3 separate regions of the Homo sapiens genome follow, and all the other regions are linked to region 2. Evidence: promoter capture Hi-C in human tissues and cell types (Jung and others, 2019). All regions are on one chromosome and are shown on one strand. The core of a region is centred on a gene start or on the middle of the fragment in contact, and the rest is flanking DNA. Distances in the headings are between cores, read along the strand shown.

Evidence for each region. The method cuts DNA at HindIII sites, captures the fragments that hold promoters and counts their contacts. A contact is called where the count stands out against the background at its distance.
Region 1: a fragment that was not itself captured here is called in contact with the fragment with the promoter of GNMT in region 2 in 1 of the 25 tissues and cell types used here (dorsolateral prefrontal cortex).
Region 3: a contact is called between a fragment that was not itself captured here and the fragment with the promoter of GNMT in region 2, in 1 of the 25 tissues and cell types used here (dorsolateral prefrontal cortex).

Annotation. Positions count from the first base shown.
Region 1 is chr6:43,440,940-43,443,947 of GRCh38, forward strand. It overlaps ABCC10 (ATP binding cassette subfamily C member 10), which reads left to right. Exons shown (of 22, transcript NM_001198934.2): 9 at 923-1,021; 10 at 2,031-2,220; 11 at 2,994-3,008. Among named protein-coding and RNA genes, the nearest start is that of MIR6780B, 7.9 kb to the left of the region's middle. The HindIII fragment of the contact is 4,033 bases long and covers 1-3,008 here.
Region 2 is chr6:42,959,101-42,962,029 of GRCh38, forward strand. GNMT (glycine N-methyltransferase) reads left to right here and starts at 1,654. Exons shown (of 6, transcript NM_018960.6): 1 at 1,654-1,873. The coding sequence starts at 1,668. The region is part of intron 1 of CNPY3-GNMT (CNPY3-GNMT readthrough); the gene reads left to right. RefSeq lists enhancers at 1,373-1,874, 2,053-2,102. The HindIII fragment of the contact is 14,111 bases long and covers 1-2,929 here.
Region 3 is chr6:43,358,881-43,361,782 of GRCh38, forward strand. All of the region lies in intron 2 of ZNF318 (zinc finger protein 318), which reads right to left. Among named protein-coding and RNA genes, the nearest start is that of ZNF318, 9.3 kb to the right of the region's middle. The HindIII fragment of the contact is 8,687 bases long and covers 1-2,902 here.

The DNA of each region.
Region 1 (3,008 bases), core at 1-2,500, 480 kb after region 2:
AAAAAAAACAAAAATTAGCTGGGTGTCATGGCTCACACCTGTAGTCCTAGCTACTCTGGAGGCTGAGGCAGGAGAATTGCATGAACCCGAGAGGCGGAGGTTGCAGTGAGCTGAGATCATGCCACTGCACTCCAGCCTGGGCGACAGAGCAAGACTCTGTCTCACACACACAAAAAAGTAAAAACCTATAAAAGCTTTTACATCAAATCTGCCCAAGATACCTTACTACCTTGCCTGTTAAAAAGACAGGGTAATAGGCCAGGCACGGTGGCTCACGCCTATAATCCCAGCACTTTGGGAGGCCAAGGTGGGTGGATCACAAGGTCAGGAGATCGAGACCATCCTGGCTAACATGGTGAAACCCCGTCTCTACTAAAAATGCAAAAATTAGCTGGGCATGGTGGCACACGCCTGTAGTCCCAGCTACTCGAGAGGCTGAGGCAGGAAAATCGCTTGAACCCAGGAGGTGGAGGTTTCAGTGAGCTGAGATTGTGCCACTGCACTCCAGCCTGGCGACAGAGCGAGACTCCGTCTCAAAAAAAAAAAAGGGTAGTAAATGTAACAAAGTAGTTAAGAATCTGAATCTGAACTTGTGTCCTGCCCCTTACTAGCTGTGGGCCAGCTAGTTAATCTGTCTGAGCTTTGGTTGCACCTGAGAAAAGGAAATGATACCATCTTCATAAGATTACATTGGGGCTTGAATGAGAGAATGCCTGTAAAGTGCTAGGCACATAGTGTTCAATAAGTGCTTGATGTTATTGGAATTATGTCTTGTCTCCTCTGACTAGCTCACCCCAAATTTAAGTCTACTCTCCTCAAGCTCCCTACTTCTCTTGACTCCCACTATCTCCTGCAAAGGGATAGGAAGTGGGCCAGAAGGTAATGGGAGCTCCCTGACCCACTGGGGCACCTGTTCCATCAGATCCTGCCTGCTGGAGACCAGACAGAGGTGGGGGAGAAGGGTGTCACCCTTAGCGGAGGACAGCGTGCCCGGATTGCCCTTGCTCGTGCTGTCTACCAGGTCAGTTAAAGATGGAGGTTGCAGTGGCAGGGAGGTGGGGGGAGTCCAGAGCCTTGGGAACTTGGCTGAGTTAGGAGGATAGGAATATTTTCCTTAGCATCTGGTTCCTTCCCTCCTCCCTTGCATGTTCCTGAGGTATTGGCCATCTCATCCCCTTTTGCAGATTTAAGGCAGAGTTCAAGGCCTTTAAAAAGTATTTGTAGGCTGGGCATGGTGGCTTAGGTCTGTAATCCCAGCACTTTGGGAGGCCAAGGCAGGAGGATTGCTTGGGCCCAGGAGTTTAAGATCAGCCTGGGCAATGTGGCAAAACCCTGTCTCTACAAAAAATAATTTTAAAAAGTTAGTTGGTGTAATCCTAGCACTTTGAGAGGCCGAGGAGGGTGGATCACTTGAGGTCAGGAGTTCGAGACCAGCTGGGCCAACATGGTGAAACCCCATCGCTACTGAAAAACATACAAAAATTAGCTGGGCATAGTGGCACATGCCTGTAATTCCAGCTACTCGGGAGGCTGAGGCAGGAGAATCGCTTGAACCCGAGAGGCAGAGGTTGCAGTGAGCCAAGATCACACCATTGCACTCCAGCCTGGGTGATGAGAATGAAACCCTGTCTCCAAAAAAATTTAGCTGGGCTTGATAGCATGCACCTGTAGTCCCAGCTACTCAGGAGGCTGAGGTGGGAAGGATCACTTGAGCCTGGGAAATTGAGGCTGCAGTGAGTGGTGTTCATGCCACTGCACTCCAGCCTGGGCAACAGAGCAAGACCATGTCTCAAAAAAAAAAAAAAGTGTTATATGGGCTGAGGGCCTGGGACCTAGGAAAGCTGAGTGCTGGCCCTGGGGTGCTGTTCTTTCTTGCCTGAAGGGATGTCCACCCTCAGGTCTCACCTCCTTCTCTGCTAGTGTAGGGGTAGCCCCCAGAGTTTCTCTCAACTGTCTTCTCTGATCACTTTGAGATCTTCTCCGGAGAGCCTTTGGGTCCTGGTGCCCACGGTACCCTCACGTCTCCATAGGAAAAGGAGCTCTATCTCCTCGATGACCCTCTGGCCGCTGTGGATGCAGATGTGGCCAACCACCTGCTGCACAGGTGCATCCTGGGCATGCTGAGCTACACCACACGGCTGCTCTGCACCCACCGCACTGAGTACCTGGAGAGGGCTGACGCGGTGCTGCTGATGGAGGCCGGGCGCCTCATCCGGGCTGGTAATGGGGGCAGGAGCCCCGTGTGAGGGAGGTGTCTGCCCAGGTCTGGCAGGGGATTGTGAAGTACAGACTCTGCCCCCTGCTGCATGTGTGCCCTGAGCCAGTCATTGCTGCCTCCCGCCTTCACAGAACTGGTGTGAGGAACTGGGAGAACAGGAGGGAAAAGGAGTACGTTGGTAAAATGCCAGTGTATTTGGGACTCATGGGCTTTGTGACTGGGTGCTCTTGGGAACTTAAAGGCCCAGGGTCTCTGAGAACATTCTCATATCTTCAGAGAAGAGAAAGGAGTCAGGTTTAGAATGGTCTTTTTGTAAAAACAAAAATTTTTAAACTCTGAAAGATTTTTATGCAGAGGGATGTGACCACCTGCAAGTTTACTGGGAGAGAAATAGGAGGAAATGAAGCTCCAGCCAGATATTAGGAATTGAGCGAAGCATGAGAAAAAGCTCTGCAGTAATGAGAAGTAACCCTGGACAGAGTGGCAGGCATAGCTCTGGCGGTCCTCTTGGGGATGGACATTCGTCCCTCTCTGCTGGTCGGAATCAAGGTTTACAAGGATGGACTTGAGTCCTGCTCGAGGTCTAGGGGTATCCAGAGCAGGGTGGGTTAGAGAGGGAGGCCTAAGAGTCCTGCTCGAGGTCTAGGGGTATCCTGCTAGGGTGGGTTAGACGGGGAGGCCTGAGAGGATGAGAGGTGGGATCTGCACACGCACTGAGAAAGGCATAGTATAGACTCAGAACAGTCCTCTCCCAATCTCCCCTTCTACCCTCCAGGACCTCCCTCTGAGA
Region 2 (2,929 bases), core at 404-2,903:
ACCAGGCCCCCTGCTTAGAAGAGTAGCACAGACCGGGCGCTGTGGCTCACACCTATAATCCCAGCACTTTGGGAGGCCGACGCCAGTGGATCACGAGGTCAGGAGTTTGAGACCAGCCTGACCAACATGGTGAAACCCTGCCTCTTCTAAAAATACAAAAATTAGCCGGGCGTGGTGGTGAGCGCCTGTAATACCAGCTACTCAGGAGGCTGAGGCAGGAGAATTGCTTGAATCTGGGAGGCGGAGATTGCAGTGAGCTGAGATTGCACCACGGCACTCCAGCCTGGCGACAGAGCGAGACTGTGTCTCAAAACAAAAACAAAAACAAAAAAAAACCCTGCAGTTGCTTCCATGTTTAGGCGCTGCCCACCAAGGGTCCCAAGTTGGAAAGGAAGGAGGAGAGAGGCAGAGAGAGAGAGAGAGAGAGAGAGAGAGAGAGAAGCGCGAGAGCGGCCCTGTAATTGAGCAGAAAGGAAAGGGAGAAAAATGAATCCCAAACTTTGGGCTTACCTCTTTCTGCTGGCTGGCTCGCCAAAATATGTTAACGGTAGAGGATGTCCAGGTTCTTGGCATCTTGAACAAACAATTGGACAAAATGCACAAACAAAGCAAGAAAGGAATGAAGGATTTTATTGAAAATGAAAGTACACTCCACAGTGTGGGAGCGAGCATGAGCATAGGGGCTCAAAGGCCCTGTTACATTTTGTGAGTTTAAATACCCTCTACTTGGGGTACACCCTATGTAAATGAAGAGGATGAAGTAAAGTTACAGTTACAAAGTTATTAATGGCGGGCATACGCCCTATGGAGAGGATATTTCCCGTTATAACTGAAGTGTGAATTGGCCTTATGTTCCCTGTCTCTAGACCCTATTCTCCTGCTTCCTGTGAAAGCAGAGGGTTTTGTTTGTTTTTTGCTTTTTGTTTTTTGAGACGGAGTCTTGCTCTGTTGCCCAGGCTGGAGTGCAGTGGTGCACTCGGCTCACTGCAACTTCCGCCTTCCCGGGTTCAAGCGATTCTCCTGGCTCAGCCTCCGGAGTAGCTAGGACTACAGGCGCGTGTCACCATGTCCCAGCTAATCTTTCTTTATTTTTAGTAGAGACGTGTTAGCCAGGTTTCACCGTGTTACCGTGTTACCGTATTCCAGCCGGGCTCCGCCCCTGGATTCGGTGGACAGACCAGCTTTACCTCCAGAGACTCCCCCTGTCTTCCCTGCACCGGCTGACTATACCTACACACTTCGGTGGCACAATCTTTGTTTAGATATGCTGATGCCTTCCTTCGCTGGGAACGGTCCAGTCCTGCCCGCCTGGCGCTCAGCTCTGCGGATCTCAGGGGATGGAGTGGCAATCTCATTGCTCCCGCCTCTCCTGACCCCTCTCGCCTTCTCCTCGAGACCCGGGTTAAGTGGGCAGAGGGCTCCGAGGGTCCTCTCCCGCCGTGGGATTGCACAGAGGGCTGGGTCCGCAGGCTGGCTAAAAGGACCTAGCCCAGGATTGCGAGGCAGCGCCCTCCCTGCAGCTGGACAGACTCGGGCGCCCGGCCCAAAGCCCGGCAGGGGCGTGTCCGCGCGCTCACCTGCTATTGGCCAGGTGGGGCTGTCGGCTGCCAGCAGTGCTTATGCTTTAAGTGCGGAGCGGGTGGCTGCGGAGCCAGGCGCGGCGCAGGATGGTGGACAGCGTGTACCGGACCCGCTCCCTGGGGGTGGCGGCCGAAGGGCTCCCGGACCAGTACGCGGACGGGGAGGCGGCGCGCGTGTGGCAGCTGTATATCGGAGACACCCGCAGCCGCACCGCCGAGTACAAGGCATGGCTGCTTGGGCTGCTGCGCCAGCACGGCTGCCAGCGGGTGCTCGACGTAGCCTGTGGCACTGGGTGAGCCCAGGCCGGGGCCGGGGGCGTTGCATGAGATCGGGGTCTGTCTCAGCCTGTACTGCGCGGCCGCAGAACCACAGGGCCGGGCACGTCAGGGCGGCCTTTGCCAATCCTGGAACGGGTGGGACACCAGGGCCAGGAGCAGGTACCTGCCCGGCAGAACAGGCACTGCGAGTGCCCCGTGAGGCTAGGGGTCCAGGTAGCGGTTCGCAGGGAGAGGCCCCGGAGAAGGGAGACTGAGTGTGAGTGAGGGTGTGGGCAGAAAAAGTGAGCGTCCCTGAGGCTTTGGAGCCAGAGCCACGGACAGATTGCAAATATTCCTCCTGTGATGGCCTTGGGCAGTGTTAACAGTTAACATTGCTCAACATTTGCACCTGCCAAGCCCAGTGCCAGGAGCTTTTGATACATCACTTTTTCAAACCCTCACAAAGCCCCATGAAGTTAAGCAGTGATATTCTCTCATTTACTACTGGGGAAGTAAGGCCTCAGCAAAGTAAAATTCCCTCATACATCATCCAGTGAAAAGGAGCTAACAGGCCCGGGTTGGTTAAGATCTGTCCTGTGCTCTATTTTTCTCTTTTTTTTTTTTTTTTTTTTTGAGATGAAGTCGTGCTCTGTCGCCCAGGCTGGAGTGCAGTGGCTCCATCTCGGCTCACTGCAAGCTCCGCCTCCTGAGTTCATGCCATTCTCCTGCCTCAGCCTCCCGAGTAGCTGGGACTACAGGCGCCTGCCACCACGCCCAGCTAATATTTTGTATTTTTAGTAGAGACGGGGTTTCGCCGTGTTAGCCAGGATGGTCTCGATCTCCTGACCTTGTGATCTGCCCACCTCGGCCTCCCAAAGTGCTGGGATTACAGGCATGAGCCACCGCGCCCGGCTTTGTCCTGTGCTCTAAACCACCATGTTCTACTGCCTTTTGTGCACACGTATTTTAACTTCAAGGAGCCTCAGCTTGTCTGTCTCTCAAATGGGAATGACACTATTTACCTCTCAGGATTGCCATGAGAATTAATGCATATTTGTAGAGTGCCTGGCTCTGAAGAGGTGCTTTTAAAA
Region 3 (2,902 bases), core at 68-2,567, 400 kb after region 2:
TCCAGAGGTTGTAAAGAGTGCTCAGGAGCTACCAAAAGAAAGGAGGTACTAGAAAAGCAGAACCAGCAGGGCTCTTGACCTTCTATCCCAGTTAAATCACACTAATTCCAACTTTAAGTCTGTATATTAAGGTTCTAATAATTCAATTGGGAAAAAAAAGTATCACTATATGGTAACTTTTAAAAAAACTACTGATTTATCTAATTAGCATGATTTTCTCATAAGATTTAGAAGGTTCTCCAATGCTTTGCCTTGATGGTTCACATATTAAAACCCATAAAGCTCTCTCACAGCCTGTTTTGTCACCCTCTTTGCCTTCTCTGGATATCTACAAGCACTCTGCTAATCTTGGGCTTAGAAAAGAGAAAGTGATGGTTTGGTTCACCATATATTTTTATTTCATTAAATACAAAGGTCTCAGACCTTTGTGGCATGAGGTAAAAATCCAGGATGGGACAGCTATTCTTTTAGCTGAGAATTCTATACCACACCCAATAATGCTAACCTTCTCAGGGGCTATGGCTATGACACAAAACTAAAGTTTCTGATTTAAATCACAGATAGAAATAAAGATCCTCTAGCACTTTATGTATGAAAACTTCTAAGTACTCTGAATAAAAAATAAAAGTTCTTACATGTCACTCACATTCCAGAGTGAATTATCATCTAGAGGATGGTAACTATTAGTGTCTTCTACAGTTTCTAGTAGCTACTTTTGTTGTGAGTTTCTAGAAATGACTTTTCCTTAGTTTTTTTAGTAGTTGCTTTCCTATCTCTGAGACTATGCCAGCAGAATCTCAAAACATTGCCTTTTCTTATTCACCAGCCTGCCTTTGATCAAAGTTGTAGACCTAGGAATAAATTTATGAAAGGTTATCAAGGACAAACTTTATTTACCTTCTCTAACAAGAATGCCACCTGTGGGAATCCAGGTTTCTGTTACCCACCTTCTTCCTAAGAATTTGGGAAATTTTGAGGTTTCAATGCAGTATGAAATAGGAATAAATGGGAATAAACCAAGGATGATTTCTGAAATCAAACTGAGGTAAAAATTTTTCTCTATAGGTCTGTCAGCCATAAACACACCTATTTCCAGAGAGGAATGTTCATGAGTTGAGTCACTCCATTGCCAAAACACCATCTACCATACAAAAAGTCTCTGACCATATTAGTATAGGGAGAAAAAACATAGGCTCCATGAGGAGTGGCAAGTTCATTCACACTCCCACATTCAGCTCCCCACCAGAACTATTACATGTCACCATGAAACGGCATACTAGCCCAAGGTCTAAACCAGTACTAACTATCAAGAAGCTACAAATGAGATGGCTCTCAAAAAGCTGTAGTCCAGACTTGGAATCTCCAGTAGAGACAGAAAAAAGGCATAAAAACAGTTTTCTTAAAAAAGCTATCACATACATATAGGCAGAAATCAGGTTGCTTATTAGAAGCTCATGTCCTCCTTCCCCAGGACTCCAAAAGGATATGAGAAGAGAACTGGCTGTAGTAAGAACCCTAAAAAGGGTACAATCTCCTATACCCTGAAAGAGTCCAGCGATGGATACTCCCGGAAAGCCTTGGTTAAGTTCAACTGTTTTCTAAAATAAAGTCTATCTATTTAAAAAAACTGATTGTTGGAGTTAGGTAATAAGGACATGGGGTTTCACTGTACTATTCTACATTTTTGTGTTTACAAATCTCTGTTAAACAAGTTTTTAAAAAATGTATGTATGTCCATATAAAAACTTTTATACCAATGTTCAGAGCAGCATTAATCATAATTGCCAAAAAGTGAAAAGAATCAAAATGTTATCCATTCATTCACCACTGATGAATGGATAAACAAAACATGGTATATCCATACAATAAAATATTATCAGCAATAAAAAGGAATGCTACAAACACGGATGAACCTTAAAAAAAAATATGCTAAGTGAAAGAAGCCAGTCACAAAAGACCACATATTATATGATTCTATTTATATGAAATGTCCAGAACGGGCAAATCTATAGAGACAGAAAGTAGATTAGTGATTGCCTATGGCTGGGGGTAGGGTGGAGGGAGTAATGGCTAAAGGAACAGAGCTTCTTTCTGGTGTAATAAAAATGTTCTAAAATTGATTGTAGTGAGGGATGCACAACTCTGAATATGCGAAAAATCACTGAACTGTACACTTCAAATGGGTGAATTATATAGTATACAAATTACATCTCGATAAAGCTGTTAAAAATGTATACATATTTTAAAAGGTCCTTCAGAGCCTAAACTCTCCATTCTTTTCTGTTGATGAGTCCCAAAAATGCCCCAAGAAAGCTGTTTGCTTCTATTCCCTAAAGAAAATCAGAGGGAAAAAAATCCCACTCCTTCAATCTGTCAGAATAAGGAGAAGAAATTAGGCGATAAGCTGGGCACAATGGCTCACACCTGTAATCTTAGCACTTGGAGAGGCCAGGGCAGAAGGATTGCTTGGGGTCAGGAGACTAGCCTGGACAACACAGATAGATAGAAACCCAATTTCTAAAAATTTATTTTTTAATTCACCAGGTGTGGCAGTGCAGCCCATAGTCCTAGCTACTCTTTAGACTGAGCTGGGAGGACCACTTGAGCCCAGGAGTTTGAGGTTACAGTGAACTATGATCACGCCACTGCACTCCAGGCTGGGCAACAGAGCAAGACATTGTCTTTTAAAAAGTTAATAATTTTTTTTAAATAAATAGCTCCATGAATGGAACATTAAATGTGCAAATTACTTTGATGAACAGGAGAAATCAACCTAACATCCACAAGTCTTTAGAAGCCAAGTGTTTTAGAATTTTTCACATTACCTTTCATGTTCCCTTTTGAGTAGAATTACAGTCCTACATACAGGGCTGCTAAGGTGAAGACACTAAAACCCAACTTG